Regions from separate parts of the Homo sapiens genome. Here regions 2, 3 and 4 are each linked to region 1. The links are contacts of gene promoters, found by promoter capture Hi-C in blood cells and fetal thymus (Javierre and others, 2016). All regions are on one chromosome and are shown on one strand. Each heading gives the region's core, a stretch centred on a gene start or on the middle of the fragment in contact. The rest is flanking DNA. Distances are from core to core; before and after follow the strand shown. Region 1 holds the start of GPATCH2 (G-patch domain containing 2). Region 2 has its middle 56 kb from the start of ESRRG. Region 3 overlaps RRP15 (ribosomal RNA processing 15 homolog). Region 4 overlaps RRP15 (ribosomal RNA processing 15 homolog).

What was found. The method cuts DNA at HindIII sites, captures the fragments that hold promoters and counts their contacts. A CHiCAGO score of 5 or more calls a contact.
Region 2: a fragment that was not itself captured here is called in contact with the fragment with the promoter of GPATCH2 in region 1 in 1 of 17 cell types (fetal thymus); the score reaches 8.8 in fetal thymus.
Region 3: a fragment that was not itself captured here is called in contact with the fragment with the promoter of GPATCH2 in region 1 in 1 of 17 cell types (naive CD8 T cells); the score reaches 5.2 in naive CD8 T cells.
Region 4: a contact is called between a fragment that was not itself captured here and the fragment with the promoter of GPATCH2 in region 1, in 1 of 17 cell types (activated CD4 T cells). The highest score is 6.7, in activated CD4 T cells.

What each region holds. Positions count from the first base shown.
Region 1 is chr1:217,628,654-217,633,792 of GRCh38, reverse strand. GPATCH2 (G-patch domain containing 2) reads left to right here and starts at 2,703. Exons shown (of 10, transcript NM_018040.5): 1 at 2,703-2,877. The coding sequence starts at 2,822. It overlaps SPATA17 (spermatogenesis associated 17), which reads right to left and starts at 2,449. Exons shown (of 11, transcript NM_138796.4): 1 at 2,347-2,449. The coding sequence starts at 2,414. RefSeq lists enhancers at 2,425-2,664, 2,695-2,764. The HindIII fragment of the contact is 9,292 bases long and covers 1-3,126 here.
Region 2 is chr1:216,776,471-216,781,609 of GRCh38, reverse strand. It overlaps a transcript of ESRRG not described here. Among named protein-coding and RNA genes, the nearest start is that of ESRRG, 56 kb to the right of the region's middle. The HindIII fragment of the contact is 778 bases long and covers 2,729-3,506 here.
Region 3 is chr1:218,314,229-218,319,367 of GRCh38, reverse strand. The region is part of intron 4 of RRP15 (ribosomal RNA processing 15 homolog); the gene reads right to left. Among named protein-coding and RNA genes, the nearest start is that of TGFB2, 29 kb to the left of the region's middle. The HindIII fragment of the contact is 5,511 bases long and covers 1-5,115 here.
Region 4 is chr1:218,297,497-218,302,635 of GRCh38, reverse strand. RRP15 (ribosomal RNA processing 15 homolog) reads right to left here. Exons shown (of 5, transcript NM_016052.4): 2 at 77-342. Among named protein-coding and RNA genes, the nearest start is that of RRP15, 15 kb to the right of the region's middle. The HindIII fragment of the contact is 6,442 bases long and covers 1-5,139 here.

The sequences.
Region 1 (5,139 bases), core at 1,454-3,953:
GAAGCCTTTTTGTCCGTACCTTGTTACGAAAACAGAAGACATTGAAAGAAACCAAGGAGACTTTAAATTGTTTCCCACAACTCTGTTCCCTACATGTTAACGGATTTGGGACAGTACACTCAAGCCATTTGGACCTCTGGATCTTGGTGCTTGTTGCAATTTAATTAAATCAGCTTAATGGGAAGAAAATTTTGTTTAGTGACAGTGAACAGCGGAGGTTTTAGAGTTAGATTAGTTGGCTCTGATAATTCATAATTGACCTCAAGACATCCGCCTGCCCTGGCCTCCCAACGTGCTGGGATTACAGGCCTGAGCCACTGTGCCTGGCCAATTAATTGTTTGTTTGGCACTTCATCAGGCTTTTCTAGAACATTGTTCTATAGCTCTAAAAATATAGATTATCTAATAAATAGATAATTTCTACATTAACTTATAACATTGTGATAACCAAGTGAAATATCATATGTAGTTGTTCCTGGTGCAATCCCTCATATATAATCAGTCCTCAAAAAATACTGGTTGTTTCCCTTTCTGTCCATGTTACTCTATTGTTGTTATTATTTATTTATTTATTTATTTATTTATTTATTTATTTGAGACAGAGTCTTGCTCTGTCGCCCAGGCTGGAGTGCAGTATTGCGATCTCGGCTCACTACAACCTCTGCCTCCTGGGTTCAACTGATTCTCTTGCCTCAGCTTCCAGAGTAGCTGGGACTACAGGCGTGCACCACCATGCCTGGCTGATTTTTGTAATTTTAGGAGAGACAGGGTTTTGCCATGTTGGCCAGTCTGGTCTGGAACTTCTGCCCTCAAGTGATCCATCTGCCTCTGCCTCCCAAAGTGCTGGGATTACAGGCATGAGCCACTGAGCCCAGCTAGTATTGTAATTATTTTTTAAAAGCCTATATTCCATACAAGGATGTGAACATCATGATGGATGGGGCTTATTTCATTTATATATGTCATAAATACAGCACCTGCCACATACTCTAAATAAATAGATAATTTCTATGTTTAGCTATTGTTAGTATGTTTACTTAAACCAGGGCTACAGATTTATTGAAAAATTCATTAATGTGAGTCTTCAACAATTATTGTGTTACTATTATTTGTATGGGGCTATCATAGACGTTGGAGACAAAAATAATGGTGAGCAAAATAAGAGACACTGTCTCTGCTACTAGTTTAAGAGGGGAGATAGATATTATCTCATAAAAGAATGTAAAATTGAATTGTGATCAGTGCTGTAAGAGAGGTACGTTGTGAAATAATGATGTAGTAGGTGAGATAAACGTTAGAATAAAAGCAGCTCAGCAAGACCCTATCTCATTGACATATTTTCCATTGGTCTGTCATGTCACTGTATTCCATAATAGTCTAATTCACTTTTTTGCAGTTTCTTTTAAGTTACAAAAACTCCTGGGGCAATGCTTCTTTAAAATGAAACTCTTCCTGGGCAAGAAGTTTGGCTGTAGGGAGATGAAGAAGACTGCTAGTGGTTTTCTTACCCGTTATCTATTAATTAATATATTGGTACTAGTTACCGTGTCAGAATGGTTTAGACACTTTCATTTTATTTTATTTTATTTATATTTATTTATTTATTTATTGAGACAGGGTCTTAATTTGTCACCCAGGCTGGAGTGCAGTGGTACAATGTCGGGTCACTGCAACCTCTGCCTCCCAGGTTCAAGCGATTCTCCTGCCTCAGCCTCCGGACTAGCTGGGATGACAGGCATGTGCCACCATGCCCGGCTAGTTTTTGTATTTTTAATAGAGACGGGGTTTCACCATGTTGTCCTGGTTGGTCTAGAACTCCTGGCCTCAGGTGATTCGCCCCCCTCGGCCTCCCAAAGTGCTGGGATTACAGGCGTGAGCCACCACACCCGGCAGATACGTTCATTTTAAAAAGGCGAATGAGTCATAGAACAATTGAGTTTAGTGATGTTTGTAAAATAACGGAGGCTCAAATCCCTAGGTAGATGGGACACAATCTGAGTTCATTGGGCTAGTGAGTCAGGGTGACCCCCAGTCAGGGTATTGAACATAGGTTTCATCAAATTGCAGAGTGGTGATGTCGAAGAAAAAAAGCACTTTACAATTTTATCTATGCTGGGAGTTTCCTTAAATCATCTCACACTGAATATCTACGGCCCCTCTCTATTTAGAATTTCGTTGTATGGTAACAGAAACTCCCAATTATGTTTGCAGCCCATTAAGGGAAGAATTGGGTACTACTTAATGAATTAGGGTAATCGTTAAATCGTTAATTGGAAACTCCCGCTGAGGAACAACTGGTATAAAGTCACGCCCGCCCTTTACGCGATCCTTCTCTTCCTGACTTACCTGTTCCTAAAGTAGTACTGATTTCCTACAGTCGACGACCTAGCTTGCAGCCGGGCTAACGTGGCCATGGTCTCTTGGCCTTGGGTTTACAACTGGTGTTACTACCGGTCTCCATGGTAACTGGGCTAAACCATAGCTCACTCCCGGGGTTCGACTTTTTGTTCACTCCTCTTTTCTCTCATGCTGCTTTGACTTTAAGAGCACTAAAAAGAGAATTAAGAAATTTCTGTGTAGCACAAAAGTTTAATTTATTTGTCTCTGTCTCTACTGCGAGTAGGAAGAGGGGATTATAGGAAGGGGAAAGCAGTAAACGCGGAGAACTAATGGTTGCTCCGGGCATCCGGTTTCCGCCGCCTGTCGGCTTCCGGAAGCTCATCTCAAAATGCTGAACTGCTCTTTGGAAGTCGCCGGTGCTGTTGTAGTTGGAGTCTGTTCACGGGCCTGAGCTTCGAGGCCAGGCTCCCGGGTGTCGTTAATGTTCGGGGCCGCCGGGCGCCAACCGATCGGAGCTCCAGCAGCCGGGAACAGCTGGTGAGGCTGGCGGCCCTGGGGAGGGGGAGGTCAGGGAAGGGTGTGATTGCCCGAGGCCGCTCCGCTGGACCTGGAATGGAGGCGGGAGGGAGCTGTGATGGATGATCTGAAGACATCTAGGCCTTGCTCTCACTCATTCCTGGGATGCACGCAGTTTGAGGGAGCTCTTGGGTGTGTGCCAAAGATTTGTGAAAGAATACAGTAAATGTTTTCTGATTGCTTGTTTAACAATATTTTAGAAGTCAAGCTTCCTGTACTCCAGGAGCAATTCATCTCCTCATTGATTGTTGACAACACTAGGGACAGGAAGAATTTATCTTAATCCGGGCCTTATTCCCCACTCCTCTTTCAATATTTACCAGATTATACCAAGTCTTTTGGAAGATAAATTCCAGAAATCTAGAGTTCTGGAAGTTCAATCGTGGAAAACACATCACCCTCTCACCCCCTTTTTTAAAGAGAGAGGGTAACCTACCTGTTTCCACCCTCTTGAACATTCTATTCAAGTTAAAGTGAGATATGTATGGGGGCTTTCCAAGAACCTATAACTGTCAGGATTAAGTTTGGGGCTTGACTATGTCTATGGTATCATGTTAGAATAATATATTGCTTTGACTTTTCAAAGTATTTCCACAAATTAATACACTTTATCCTATGACAGCCTTGTGATAGCAGAATATCACAAGCACAGAAAATTCAAGTACCGTGTCCAAAGTTGCCCTGTACATTTTAATCCTAGAGCTAGAATCCTGATTTGGGGATTTCTAGTTGAACACTCTGTATTATCTGTCCTGTTTTTCTCCCAAGCCCTTTTCCTCCAAACATAACATAAGACAACCAGTGACACAAACAAGCAATTTCCCATTGAAAATCCTCAAACATAAAGTTCTGACCAACAGGTGAAAGAAATGTGGCTAAATGGTGCGTGTTCATTCCTAGATTCTGCAAAAATTAGAACATGAGGAATTCTAGTAGTCTGTGATCTCAGATAATTGCTTTTCCATCACCTATCACTGAAAAGTTAAAAGAATACCTTATCCAAAATATTTCTAGTTGGACCTGATCATCCTGTAGTTAATTTTATAGTGAATATAGATTTGATTATACTATTTGTAAATTATTACATTTTCCAGTGAGAAAAGTAGGGAGCATTTTTTAAATGAACCAGTTTTTAATGGTATAACTAGCATAGAATGAAATGCACAATTTTTACAGGCTTAATTTTATTAGTTTTGGCAATTGCATATACTTATGTAAACACCACACAAAACAAGATAATGGATTTGTCCATCACCCCACAGTTCCCTCTCAAGGATACCTGTCTTAATGTTTCACTGTTCATTATCTTGGTTAAGTCAGGGAGACAAAATGTCCTATGTAGATTGGTCTGCTCTTCCTAGGGTGCTATTGATTTGTAGGGTAGGTGACTACATCAGAATGTGATTGATTCTCTCAACTTCTTTTACCTTTAAAATCATGGTTAGGTACTGAGAGAAACCTCCTTCAATTCTCTTTAAAGGCTCGCTTGTCATACAACTCACCATTTCTTATGGCACCAGAGTATAACAAAGTGGTAGCACTTAGTATTTTTGAATGAAATTCTAAAGTCATTCCTGTTCTGTCAGAATGAATATGTTCCAGAAAACTGGATCTTTATTTTCTAGTCTATCTGTATGACTATCTGTATGACTATCTGGAATGTAAAAATTCCAGATTTCTTAATGGAATTTTCTTCTTCATTAATTGAACAGATATTTACTATATAAGTATGTTTGATCCCAGTAATAAATTCCAGTCCCACTGGGAATACTGCTACTAAGCAGTTAATTAGGTGCCAGGTTTTACAAATATGTGTCATCTCATGTAAATCTTTTGAGGTAGGTGTATCATTCTTTGCATTTTAGATAAGGTGACACAGAAGCAAAGATGGTTTAAGTAACTGGCCTAAGTATCATATTTGCAGGATGATTCCAGTATACCCCCCCAAAATTCTTAACCACTTTTATATGTTGCCTATGTGTCTGAATGAGATATAATATCTCAAGGAATATGTAACCTAGCAGTTAGATGCCCAAATTTGTTAACCAGTCTGGATTTTCTGACTTATTTAGCTCCCATCTTGACTTTTTCAACTTCTCCAGTGTGGACGTTGCTGTTTCAATTTTTAGGCACCAAATGGGTAAATGTGGATAATTTCTGTATTCAACTATGGTATTCTTTTTTTTTTTTTTTTAACTTTATTATGTGGCTTTGCTTAAAAAA
Region 2 (5,139 bases), core at 1,868-4,367, 850 kb after region 1:
GACTTGCTCTAATTAGTCCACTAAGATATAAGCTCTCTTGAACTGTGACGGTATGTTTGGTATAGCGATTGGAGTGCAGAAGACATTACGTAAATGTTGACTGACTTGTTGATGGACCTCTTCTGCATATGCTCACACAGGTAAATCCATTGTTGGATGTTGAGAAATGGGAAGAATTTGAAGGCCATTTAGAGATACTTGCAAATGTGGTTATTTATTATCTGCTACTTTTAACACTGCTCTTAAAAAGAAAAAACTAAATACATTTATCTCATTTCTCTATGGCCTTACTCTCCAGCAAAGATTGAGGCAAGCGATTTTTTTTTTTTATTTTGGTTGTTCAGGGATGCATTCCTAGCACTGCACACAGTGCCTGTCACATAGTAAGTACTCAATAAATGTTTGTTGAGTGAAAACATGAATATGTTGTGCCAATAGTGAAGATGTTAAAATAGTAATATATACTATCATCTTCTATATACTTATTAGTCACAAACCAGGTGTATTTCTTATTTGTTTTGGATAAGAGATTGACATTGCTTATTAATTTTAACTTGGGTTAAAAATAAGCACTTAGTTAACCATATTAAATGATACCACAAAATTATTTATTTTGAAATTATACTAGTTGAATTTAGCGCCAAAGTAGAAAGGTACAGGATCCATATATGTTGTTGATAAATAAATGATCTTTAAATAGAGTCACAATACTTAGTTGTGTCGTGAACATATGAAGCTTTGTTTCACATTTTAACCTCTCATGCTAGGGCTACAATCAGAGAGGACATAAGGCACGTGAGAATGCACACAGGTCTGGGAACTTGGTTCTGTTCATTGCCTTGGCACTAACTCACTGTAGGTCCTCGAAAATCCCTTCTCCTCCCTGGACTCTGTTTTCTCATCTGTAGGAACCCACTCCCTCTATGTGATTTGTTATACAGATAATATAGATTAAAGGAGAATCATCTGGAACCAAAGGCACAGAGCCTCAGATCTCCCTCCACTCTAGTTTTCTGTTTGATAACATGAAGATATTGATAGTAACAGAGCCACAGAATTTCTGTGACAGAGAGATAATGTACACACAGTATCTGATTTCGTAAGGGTTCAGTACATTTCAGCAATTTCTAGCTCTTATTCCATATCTAAATATGTATGATTCCATGAGAAATTGTTCCAATCTATCAATAACTCAACTTAAAAAATCTCCAGGCATTCCCAGGGTCCATCCTGATAACTTCTGTCAGGGAAAGAGAAGAATTGCTGGGTTTTCCATTTCAAATCTTATACACGGAGCATTTTCAATTTTGAAAATGTCAGAGCTTTGACAGTACTCCTTTAAAAGCAGCTTTGTTGTTTTTAAATTACATTTGTTAAGCTTGGAATCCATAATGTGAATGATAGGCCCTGGTGGTATTTATATAAAAATTAAAACTGTCAAGTTGTATTAAGGTTTAATCATTGGCTATGGCACATGAGCCACAATTTCTTTGCATGAGCCCTCTTGACATACTTTTCTTTTTCTTTTTTTTTAGATCTCAGCCATAGAAACATGCACATGGCCTTTAAAAAATTTCCTGAATGAGTTTATGTAGAAGAAGACAAGGCAGAAGAAACTAACAAACATGCTTCTATCTTAGGTGTATAGAACATGTTGGCTGCTAGTCACTTTATACATGGCATCTTGTTTGATTTTTAATGTGAATCTAATGGTGCATTATGATGCCCTTTGAACAGATGAAAGTACTGAGTGTCAGAGAGATAAGCCAGCTGTCCAAGGTCATTCCCCAAATACCAAATCCTAACCTTTTAATATGTTTTTCTAACATCTGCCTACATGAATCACACCTTCCCTTTTGTGATCCCAAAGATACTTCTAATTACCTCAATATTTGTGACTAAATTGTTAGCAAGAAGTGCTAAAATAGTTTTAAATCTATTACAACTCAAAAAGTAAGACTGTAACCAGTACTTTTTAAAAACAGTGCAAGTTTTTCTAAGGCAGACTGCATTAGGATATTGCCCTAGCCATTTACAAATTTTATATATAATATATAATTATATATATAAATATAAATATTTATATTTATATTTATAAATATATATTTATATATAAATATATATTTATATTTATAAATATATATTTATATTTATATTTATAAATATTTATTTTTATAAATAAATTTATAAATATTTATTTTATAATATTTATAGTTATTTAAATATAAATACATATTTTTATAAATAAATATAAATATTTTATGTTTATAAATATAAATATATATTTATATTTATAAATATAATGTTTATAAATATAAATATAATGTTTATAAATATAAATATATATTTATATTTATAAATATAAATATATATTTATATTTATAAATATAAATATATATTTATATTTATAAATATAAATATATATTTATATAATTATATATATATTTATTTTATATATATATAAATATATATTTATATTTACATATATAATTATATATATATATATATAGTTTAAGCCTCCACATAATAACAGAGATAGAAAACAATATGAATAACCACTAAGGAAGGGATCTTTACAGTTCAGCTCTGTATTCTGGCATTGTTTCAGCATTGACATAACAGAGTTGATGAGTGACTGAGGAAGAGGCCCATGGCTTCAGGTTAACATTGCTGATTCACTGTGTTCCCCTGAGAACCTGTTGCATAGATAGGTTTCTTTTCAAAAGCTTACTTTCTGTCTCATCTCCAGTATGTTTATCAGATGTTAGTAATGAGCTTCATTTCTTAGTATTTCCTCCTTTCGGAACAATGAAGTTAGATACTTCTTCCACATAGGTTGAATCCCAACTGGATGGCTCTCAAAAGTAGAGGAAGGCTTACTATTTCTAATCAAGTAGTACAATTTTGCAGTGGGTGTACAATACATTTCAGCCAAAAGTATGGCTCCTCCTGCGTGTCTATAGTCTGTTGGGGCCTGTTGACTACTTCCTGGTCAGGAAGTACTTCAGGGTCACAGGGAGCCCACTTCTGACCTCTGCGATGGGCCAAGAAAGGTAATTAGAGACTGCTGCTTGACTGCCAAGTGACCCAGGGATCTATAGACCCTGACTGTCAGGGCCCGACACAACACTTCTGTAGTGGATACTGTGGTGTGCTGTTCAAACCTTCTTCCAGGACCAAGAAATTCATTCCCTCTGCTACCAAAAGTGATGGTTCACAGTTGAGTCCCTCCCCAGGAATTATCCATGCCTCTCCCAAGGCTCTAATGACTGATCTAAGTAGAGGTACAAAGGACCAGCTCTCTTGTCTCAAGTAAGGACAACTCTGAAGAGGCATTTGAACTTTGGAGCTCCTGGCGGGATCCACTGCATTGCACTTAAACTCCTCCCTCTGCCGTTTTCTACTTCCCTCCCCACTCAGTTCTTAGGAGCACTCTCTAATAACACCCCACCCCCAGCACACAAATCTCAGAACTTGCTTCCCAAGAAAGCTCACCTATACAAGCTTCAACAGGTTTCTCTGTTTGGTCTGTTTTATAATTTCTATTGATCCGAGACCAGATAACTCAAATGACTCCTAGATTCTTACTCTTTAATTAATCTGAGCATGATGCTTTTCTGATCATTAGCAGTGATAGGTACCAGGTAGGTGAAGGCAGGTGGCAAGGCTAGGTTTGACTGTTGATAGCAAGCCTGGTTGTCTTCATAAGTCAGCATGGAAGAGATAATGGAATAGAGAGAACTTGTATCATTCCATGATAAGATATGTAAGTTAAACAATTTATCAGCTTTTTAAGAAAACATTCCTGCATTCAGAAAAGTAAATGCCAAATTTATGTGTATGTGTTATGTGTGTGTATAAGAAAGAGAGAGAAAGGAATGTGGATTACTTACAATAGGACTATTACATTGTGTTAGATGTTGGGACCATAGAAATGAAAAAGACAAGATGCCCATTTTAAAGATTAGGAAACTGAGTTCCCCTGAGTATCCAATAGGAATGTAATTATTCAGTGATTGAATCAAAACTCAGACTTAGATTTAAGTCTAGCACTGTGGTTCTTACACAACCCCTTGCTGATTCTTATCCATCATTTTCAGTGATCTGTAACAGATTACAAAGAAAAACCTCTTCAACAAAATGAGTGGAATAAAAAGTGAAACAGCAGTCTGGAAGTGTGATATGAGATCATAAATATCTGTGGCAGCTCTTCATTAGCTCTTGTTGAGAGAGTTTTCGTGTTGCGCTGGCTGACAGCTCAACTGCGGGGACACTGTTGGGAATGGGAGGAGCTGCTAGGCAGACTCTTAGCATTGCCTCGGAACACCATCTCTCACAGACTGAAATCTTGGCTCCTCACTGCTGGAGGAGTAGATCTGTAGTGCTTTTAAATTTTGTTACCCCATAATATACAGTGCATTTTATTTATGTTAGCGTCATCTTTTATACAGAGCTGTCACAAAATATGTCACTGCTGACTACAGCCTGGGTAGGCAAGCCCCATCTGTGAATTATGCCCTTCCCATGGATCATGCCAGTAGTACCTCACTGGGAAGAGAGTAGGATAAATCCAGAACACTGATAGATACACTTCAAAAGGTTAAGAGAAGACTAGGTGTGGAGTCCAACCTACAGTTAAAAATGCCTAGAGATGCCCTCGTTTGTCTTCCAACTTCTTGGGTCCTCTCCTTAGCACATGCTATACCCAATGGTTGTGAAGGTGTGTGGCTCTTCTGTCCCTGTCCCCATCTGGCCACACTTCTAGTGTTGCCTCAGTGCTACCCTTCACTGGCTTCCATGACCATCACTACTTTCTTCTTTAATGTGATCAGGACTGGGGGGTCTTGAGATTAGTCCTTGTCTCTTGTGATATTGTCTTGGAAGCCATGGAATATTCTTTTACCTCCTGAACTCCATAAAATCCCTTACTACCAATGTATTTGAAGATGGTTCTATGGAATGTTGTCCATGCCAACATACTGTAATATTTGAATGGATCTTGACCTTTAGATGTAACCATTTAGCATTTTTTTATTCCATAATTAACTGTACTAGGAACTATGCTATGGACACAATGGCGAATAAGACATAGTTCCAACCCTCAGAGAGTATGAAGTCCAGTGAAGGAATGCAGACCCA
Region 3 (5,139 bases), core at 1,111-3,610, 690 kb before region 1:
ACAAGCCGGGCACAGTGGCTCACGTCTGTAATCCCAGAACTTTGGGAGGCTGAGGTGGGTGGATCACCTGAGGTCAGGAGTTTGAGACTAGCCTGGCCAACATGGTGAAACCCCATCTCTACTAAAAATACAAAAATTAGCTAAGCGTCGTGGCGGGCGCCTGTAATCCCAGCTACTCAGGAGGCTGAGGTAGGAGAACCACTTGAACCCGGGAGGTGGAGGTTGCAGTGAGCCGAGCCGAGATTGCACCATTGCACTCCAGCCTGGGTGACAAGAATGAGACTCCATCTCAAAAAAAAAAAGACAAAAGAAAAAAGAAGAGACTGGAGGTGACTATTAAACTCCTTACTCTGGAAGACCATAATTAAAAGGGATGAAACAACCCCCATCTTTAGGAACTTTAATTCATCTCTTGAAAAGTGTCAGCTAATAAATTAGAAAACAAATGAGAAAATCACCATTCTGTAACCTCAAGTCACTTAACTGTTTTAGGCAAGGATCACTAATTGATGGTAAAAGGCAAAAGATGGAGACAGGTACACTTGCTCCTGTGAAACTATTTGTCCCAGAAATTACTTTCTAACTGGGAGGTGGGGAGGGTGCACCTTTAATAAAAAAAAAAAAAGTATTTATTATCACTTTAACCAAGTGGAAACTGGCATCACTAGCACGAAACATTCTGATAATGTGTCTCCTGATGTGTTACAATAGCAAGTACATAGTATAAGCTGTCACACATATGATGTAATTATGGCAAAAAAAGTTTAACCTAAATCTCAGCAAGCCCGTAGTCCTAACTTCTAGCTTACAGGAAAAAGGCATAGAACAAGATAAATGACACCATAATGAAGTAATCAGACAAATTCATAAACCTGGATTCATTATTCATTCTTCAAGACAACTGGCCTGGATTCATTATTCATTCTTCAAGACAACTGGCTTGTCTCTTTAAAAAGCTAGTCTTTAAAAGAAAAAAAAAGACAAGGGATTGGTCTAGAACAAAAGAGAACAAGACAGAATCAAATGTAATAGGTGAGACTTAATTGAATTCTAATTCTCAAAAAGTTATAAAAAAATTTTAATTGTATGGTATATGAACATCATACCTCAATAAAACTGATTTTTTTTTAAAAAAGAGAATCTTCGGGGCACATGGGGGTAATACTTTCAAATAATCAACCTAAACAAACAAAAACTAGATGGAGAGAAAGGCAGATAGCTATTAACACAAACACAGTAAGTGTTAACAACTTTTAAACCTAAGTAGAAATACAGAAATATAGGTGGTTATATTACTATTCTTTGTAATTTTCTTCTTGTTTGACAATTTTTATAAAAGAGCTGGGAGTTCACGCCTGTAATCCCAGCACTTTGGGAGGCTGAGGCAGAAGAATCACTTGAGCCCAGGAATTCAAGATCAGCCTGGGCAACATGATGAGACCCCCATCTCTAGAAAAAAAAATTTTAAATCAACCGGGCCTAATGGTGCCTGTGGCTCTAGCTACTCGCGAGGCTGAGGAGGGAGGATCACTTGAGCCCAGGAGGTTGAGGCTGCAGTGAGCTGTGATCACACCACTATATTCCAGCCTGAGTGACACACCAAGACCCTGTCTTTAAATTAAAAAAAAAAAAAAAAAAAAAGGGTGTGGGGCATGGGGGAAGATTCTAAAATCTGTATTCGACACACAATCATCAAATACATGATGCATTTGATTTCTAGTAAATTTTAATTCCTTGACAAATGAAGAGAAAGTCAATTCTAACTTGAATTTATAAATAATTTTCTAAGTTGGTTTTATGAGTTTCATAACTTGAAAATATCTTACTATGTTTAACATTTTATCTTACATAACAGTTTTGAGAAATCAGATTTTAAAATGTGTCAGACTTCATTATGCTTTACATCAAATGAGCAGCACGAGAGACCTAGGAAAAAGCAGAATGCAAGCTGCTTCCTTCACCATTCTCTTCCTAGTCTTGCTGACACTGTGGCTTATCAGCCAGCCACAGTTCTTCCAGCTCATCTGGGTGAGAGAAGGAAGAGAAGTTTTCTATTGGAAGTGGAATTACGTAAAAACATCTGCCACAGCATCTGGCACAAAGCATACGCTAGTAAGTGCCCTCTCAGTCCTTCTACTCACTATCCTTACTTGCTGATGCCGAGTCATTGTGTATCACGTAATCCCCAACTTGGGACAGGTATGATCTTCTAATGATGTTCTGCACATTATTCACAAAGATGATGACATTCAAATAGTATGACAGCACCCCCATAAAAACCAAACTTATCTTAATAAGTAAATTCTTGTAAGTAATACAGTTAGTTCAACCATAAGTGGAAATGGGGAACAAGAGAAAGTGGACACATTTCTAGTTCCTTCAAATCTAGTTTTATATTTTCTAAGAATTATGCATTACTAGAGCCATCACACCTAACGTGAGTGAGAATATCCAAATCTAAACATAATTTTAATCAAATTATTGGAAGGTTTTTGGATTATTCAATAATTCAGATAAAAAGTAGTAAGAGTTCCCCTTCAAATTGGTTTCCAACTTTGGAATTCATCTTTGACTACAATTTTTAGAGAAAAAATAAGCACCAATATAGGGAACTCGTTTTGATGGCATGCAATGGAAAATAAAAATTATTGCAAACATTTATACAGCACTTACTATGTGTTAAGCATCATTCTAAGTGCTTTATGTATATTAACTTAATTGACTCTCACAACATCCCTATGAGGTAGGGACTGTTATTACTACTATATATAACAGGCATTTTGAACTCAGGCAGTCTGGTTCTAGAATCTGTGGCTTTAGTACTATGTGTTATATATCCCCACAAATGGTCTCAACTGCCTACTACTCAAAAATGGTAATTTTTACCAAGATGCAATAAAATATTATTCTGACTTTTAAAAATGCATTATAGGTGCTAACATGTAAGACTGATGTCTTAATATAATGCATTTTTAAAAGTCAAATGCATAGACTCATCTGTGCAGGATAATTTTTTTTTAAAGCCTCAGCCTCACTAAAGAAAATCCAATACAGGCAGCCACTTCAAATAGCACATTTATTCATATAGGGGCAAAAAGATGTATGGCACCATTAATTTTAAGTTAACAGTAACTAAAGATTTCTACAGCAGTTCTGTAATAACTAGTTCTTATTCTTCACTAATATCCATATTTTCCATAAGTCAAAATGCTGCATGTGCCATATTGCCAAACCTAAGTTCATTTTGATTAAAACTGTTGTTCAAATCAGAAACCACCCTACATGAAAACTAAATAGCATATTTTAAAAGACATAAATACAATGGGAAACTGGCTTAAAACCATTCCCATCAACAGTAATATGTATAATCCTGCTTGTTCTCATTTCAAACATGGAGTCTCACTTTTGCCTAAGCTCTATTTAGGCATTTTCAGTAAACAAACATTAAGCTGAATTATTTACAAAATTAGGATTCCACACATTCCTGTTAGAGAGCTTTACGTGAGAGTAAAACACTGTTGTCCTGCAATGCAGAGGCAATCTAAGGACAGCATCTTTCTCTACCTCCTTGCCTGCCTTCCACACCCCAACTTGATTTAAAAGCTAAATCCTGGCCAGGCACGGTGGCTCAAGCCTGTAATCCCAGCACTTTGGGAGGCCCAGGTCGGAGGATCACTTGAGGCCAGGAGTTCGAGGAGACCAGCCTGGCCAACATGGTAAAACCCCATCTCTACTAAAAATACAAAAAAAAAAAAATAAAATAATAAAAAAATAAAGCCAGGTGCGGTGGCATGCGCCTGTAATCTCAGCTACTCAAGAGGCTGGGGCATGAGAATTGCTTGAACCTGGGAGGCAGAGGTTGCAGTAAGCCAAGATCGTGACACTGCACTCCCACCTGGGCGACAGAGTGAGATCCTGCCTTAGAAAAACCAAAAGTAAATAATGAAAATAGCCAGAGGCCCACCAAGGGACCTGGGTGAGGAAGTCCTCCTTTCCTAGGCTTCTGTCTTTAGAAGCAAGAATTCAGCAGATCTAAGAACCAGAAGAAATGCACATTTTTAAAAGTACATAGCAATTTGGAGTCTGGGTCTAAGTTGTAAGATACCAAAGAAGCCAGGTATTTCAAAAGCATTCTCACCACTAATTATTTACCTATGAAGAAATTACAAGGTTGCCATTTATGACAAATAAATGAGAAATAGAGGAGTACCCTACCTTACCTCTATGTATGACATTTAAAGTGCTCATACCACAAAATCAGAAAAAATAAATACCTGGACTCTTCCAGTAACTCTTTTTCCTAGGGACTTCTATTAAAAATTATTGTCTAGCAATCACTAAGGAAATCACTTTCTTTCTTTTTTTTTTTTTTTTTTTGAGATGGAGCCTTTCTCTGTCACCAGGCTGGAGTGCAGTGGCGCAATCTCAGCACACTGCTACCTCCATCTCCCAGGTTCAAGCGATTCTCCTGCCTCAGCCTCCCAAGTAGCTGGGATTACAGGCCCCTACCACCACGCCTGGCTAATTTTTGTATTTTTTAGTAGAGACGGGGTTTCACCATGTTGGCCAGGATGGTTTCGATCTCCTGACCTTGTGATCAGCCTGCCTCGGCCTCCCAAAGTGCTGAGATTACAGATGTGAGCCACCATGTCCCGCCAAAAAATCATTTTCTAACAGAAACCAGCTAGCATTTTCCCTTACTATAAAATTATAATTTCAGTTTCATTATTAAAAAAAAACCTGAAATTGATATATTGGCAATTTCAAATAAATGAAAACCTTGTAGAAAGTCTGTAATTCAAGAGTACAAGTAAAGCCAATGCTTTCCTAAGAGCAGCCAATATATTCTCCTTAGAGACTCACAGATTTAACATCACATCCGCTTCTGTCGGCCTTTAGAGTAACAGAATTACATTCCAAGAAATCTGATTGAATTTTAGTTGGCTTTTCAAGAAAACATTAAAAGGAATAATTACAACTTTGAAAGCTAAGAAAAAAAATTAATGCCTCTACATTAATAAAATCTTGATTAACATACTGAGAAACAAATCACTCTAGATAAGAACATGTTTTGAATAGAGGAACAGAGGTATTAATCCTTTAAGAGTTAAAGCTTAATTTTTTTATAAAACTTTACTT
Region 4 (5,139 bases), core at 906-3,405, 670 kb before region 1:
GCAAGAAACAGTTCGGTCAAGATAAGAGCTAGCCTAGACAAACAATCTAATCTACAAGAGAACTGGTGGAACATACCTGTTTTATTTTCTCTAGTCTTTCTTGCTTTAACTTTTCTTTTTCCTTTTCCAGCTTCTTATTTTTGACCAGAATAGTAGGTTTACTTTCAGGAGTTTTCTTGTTGAGGACTTTAGCCATAGCATCTGCCCAGCCCATATTAGTCCCAACACTTGATTCTCCATCATTTTCATTTTCTTTGTCACAGGGCTCAGCATCACCCTCACTGTCAGCTTCTATTGCGTCATCATCAGAATAAAAGTGGTCCTTTTCCGATCCACAGCTTCCTATAGAACCAAAGAGTAAAGGCAAATTAAACTTTAATATCCTAGGCAGAGGCTGCCAAGGCCCCCCGAACCCTTCCTGGAGCTCTGCCTGTCCCCATTTTTGCAAGGGGGGTACTTTTCTGAGTCCCACAGCTACAGTAATGATGAAGAGCAATAGGACCATCTATCCCATTGCCATCAGCTCCCAGAGACCTCGCCCAGCCACATATACAGGGGATGTCACAGCAGCTTCCAAACCCAGGACCCAGGCAGCAGAAACAAATCCAACAGCCTCTGCCACGTCCTTATTGTCAAAATGGTGACAGATGTTGGCATGGAGTTGGTGCAAGGTATATTCAAGTACACAAACCTTAATTGTGTCACTAAACTAATGGAAGGGGCTAATGAAGGTTATTAAAACAAATAACAGAAAACTTTAATAAGAAAAAGGTACAGTATTATCAGAATAAATCTTCTAAGGGATTTGTCCCAGATATTTAAAATTCTGAATTTGTATGCAGAAAAAAAGCCTAAAACTAAAAATCAGCCTCATGTAAAAGAATTTGCATATAACATTAGAAAATTGGGCATTTTAACATTTTTGGAAAAAAAAATTATCTAACAACGTGCCCAAGATACTAGATTCAATTGTAGGACTGAGTGACTGAATGAAAATACCAAGTTCTGATTGAAGATACAAATGTGTAAGTGTACCATTGAATTTTATCATGAGAACCACCAAAAAAAGCACCTACAGGTTACCAGCAAACTAGTTCATCATTTAAAATTCAAATGGATGAGGAAGATTAGCAGAAACAATAGTCCAGAAGGCGGCTTGTCTTGCAAATCAACTTGCTGAGCAGCTCTTTTTCACCTTCTTAAATTAAGTGCACTTTAACAAGGAGAGCACAAGCACCCAGCATTGCATGCATGCATCTCTATGATCCAGAGCCCTCTGGAGAGCTTCTGTTCTTCAGAAACCTGCAGAACTTATTAGGAAATACTTGGAAGAAGACAATCATCCAATAGCTTAGTAACTTGGAGTGTTTTTTAATTAGCAGAAGAAGAGCTAACAAAGAAGGCTGAGAAGTCAACAAGAAAGAAAACTCAGTAATATACAAACAGCTGCCATTTAGCAGTGATGTCTTTGGGTAAACAACTGCACTTTCTTTGGATGACTCCAAAACTAGTTGAATCTCAAAAGATTATTACAGAAAATGCCATTAGCTGAAACTTTTCCTATCAAAGTACCTCTACAAATGTAACAATATTAGTAGTTTAAGTATTTTTTTAAATATTGATATACTTGCATTAAGATAAAATACTATTTAACACTAGAAGAAAAAGGCCAAGGCATAAGCAGGTTTCCTGCTGCTCCTTACTTTACTCAATTCTGTTCCACCCACCCGGATCAGAACCTTCACTTAAATGCAGAGGATTAGAAAGCAATCCATATGCCAAAAGCACTGCAGCATTTCAGTGAGGCTGCTCTGGGTCCATTTACCCTTACCAAAGCCAAGCATCAGAACCATAACCGCTGTTTCTACCTTCTGAGAAGTCTATTGATTGAGTCTTGTTGTTGCTTCAAAATTATCTATTCTTCAACTCCGAGGCTCAGTTTCTTCTTTAAATAATTTCAACAAAATGTTCATAATTTGCCTTTAAACATCCTCTTAGCCTTTTTATATCAGCTTATTGTTATGACCAAAGTAAATGGAAGACAGTGTATAGTCAGGTATTACCTTCTGAGTGATCCCCTCTACTCTCTTGACTTTAAGCCATAAAAAGACCTGACTTTTAGCAAGTGATTACAATACTTGCAATTTGGGCATTATTTTTGCGTAATACCTTTATTTTTTCAGTGCTGAAAATTCATGAAACAAAAAATGATGTAAAACATTAATACGTTTCAAGTAAAAATTAATAACAAATTAGAAAGTAGGAAATAAAAACATGCCTATATAAAAATGAACCTCGAGCATGAGTAAAAATAAAGTATCTTCAAAAAACTAACTGAACATTACATAGCAAAGAACAATAACATTTCACATTTTTTAAAAGCATGATCTTAAAACACGAAATGCCAACAGTATAAAAGAAAATGTTATAAAGACAAGAAATCACTTGCAATTCTATCATGCTAATAGAGCTGCATATTTCTTAATAAAGACAAAAAAATTAATGAAAACATTTAATTTGAAGTTTTTTCTGTATCTTATACGCTGGGTCAATTTAAGAAATCTGAACACATTTGTGACTCTAGGCTTTAACATACAAATATAGTTAATATATAAGAACCTTATTATTGCCCATAACACTAAAAAAAAAGGTATCTAAATTAAAAGCTGGCAGCACTATTAACAAATTCAATAAAAGACTGAATTATTTTATTCCAGGGCCACAAAATGTTTCCCCAAGAGGCATCTCCTAGGACCAGTGTACCCAGGAAAGTACACTGGAAAACAAAGTTTGAAGAATATAGTTAGCTGAAAACTGTATTATTTTAATACTGTATATGTTTTACTCTTCAGAGTCAGTAGCATTACACAGACACTAATAACAAAATAAACAATTCTTAGAAAAAGTGCTTCCTGTAGTAAGTATTTAACTAAATGTAAGGAGGCAAGATGGCTTAAAAGTTTGGGTCAATAAAAAAATATCTTGGTGATTAAAAGCAGAAAAATCTTGACTAGCTCCTGGTAACATGTCAGAACTGCAACACTGACATCTAGTGTTTTGTCCTGATGTATTCACACACAAATTGCCACAGATTTCATGTTTTTCAATGGTACTGTAAAGGCAGCCAAAGCAAGCCGAAACACTTTCTGATGGTGTAACCCACACCAATTCTCCACTTCAAAACCATGGCTATTTTTCTTTGGTGCATTTCTTACCCCGCTTGACTACCACAACATGCATAATATGAACACACAATAAATCCATGAAAAGTTTATAGCACCATTTTATACAACCTGCACTCACCCCACCAATTAAAAAAATATCCAGAAGAATTCCCTTAAGTCATGGTTTTATTTTATTATTTTCTTAAAGAAGCTCTATCTCAGAAGTTTTTAATCAGGCATTCACTGACAATGAAAATGATGACATTTAATATGAACAAATTAAAAATGCCAAAGTAATGAAGTCTCCCAGCATACTAAAAAAATAGGATTTACTTCTAGGATATCAAAGATTATCACTATGCAAACCAGAAAATAGAACTGGCTCAAAATATTATTATATCCTAATCAAATGAGGTTTTTAAAAAAATTTTCCACTCACTGATTTATAACAGCAGAAGCAGATATATCCAGGTGTCTAAGGGCATAGACGGAAATCACCAGACAAGTAAAAAATGCCTTTGAAGTCCTGTGTGTTGCCTTAAACATTAATTTTGCATTCTACTATAAAAATCTGGAACTTAAAGGACTACAAAGGATGCTTATTGAAGTAATGACTAAAAGTTCCAATCATGGCAGTGTTCTCTATTAAAGCTGCTCAGTAGCCACTAGCCACAAGAGCCTATTGAGTATTTCAAATGTGGCTAGCACAACTGAAGAACTGAATTTTTATTTTCTTTAATTACCTTAAATTTAAATCACATGTGGCTAGAGGCTACCATATTGAACAGAGCAGGGCTAAACCTCCGACGTACTGAGGTAGTCATAACGCATTTCTTATCTCCTGCTGCCTTTTCCCCCAAACCTCCAGCTCCCTTTCAAACTTGCCATCTGTTCCCTGACCCCAGATACGAATGGTTAGCTGCTGGCAGGAAAGTGAGCCATTTTCCTTAGCCTGGGATAAAGTTTTAAGAAGGCTCACAGTCCCTCAACATTCACTGAGCACTTATGAGTGATGGCCAAGAAAGGACAAAGGAAAAATCTAAATCTAGGTTTCTCTCCTTGAAGAACTCAGGAGTTTAGTAGGGTGAATAAATTACATAGCCAAATTGTAATAGAATTTGTAGGTGTTCTTAAAGAAAAACAATGAGGAAAGGGTGACCAGAGATATCTGGGATGGCTTAGAGGAAGTTTTACAAAGATGATATTCAAGTTGTTTCTTAATGCAAGAATTTGAATGACAAAAGAAAGGAGGAAGCCAAGGAAGTAAGATTCCATAACCCAAGCCAGTTGATCAGACGGCAAGATCACTGAACCTAGAACCAAACACATCCTAGATTTGAGTCAGTGCTCTGTATGAAAATCAAAATTACTATTGTAATCATATTATTATTGGCATTCCAGGCAGAAGAAATCAGCATGTCCAAAGGGATAGGAATGTTAAAGATGATGAAATATTTATAAAATGACACCAAGTTGAGACTGGCTGAAACAAAAGATTTGAGAATTGGATGGTAAAAATTGGGCATAAAGAAAGTAAGTTTGGGATTTCATAAAAGCATGATTTATGATCCAAGAAATGCAATACACATCAATTCCAAGATTAAAACCAAGTAGTTTAAAAGTTCATACTCCAGGTGTGTGCTTCCAATAAAAGGCCAAATAGCTGGAATTTTTTCTCTTAGCACTTATCTTAAGTCCTTACTTTTAAAAACATTCTCTATTACAGTTTTTCTTTTAAAATGTAAATACCACCTGAAAGTGGTAAGCCTATTGGTTAACCTTTAACTTCCTTCACACCTTTAAAATTTGCCCTAAGTCAAACAGAACTCCCGGTAAAAACGTGATTGAGGACAGTTAGTAAGGGACAATGAAGTAAGGCTACCAGGATTCAATTTCAACTCCACACACTAATCTAAGTGGCTTTTCTGACATTAAGTCTTCTGTCTTAGTTTCTTCATCTGTAAAAATAGGAATA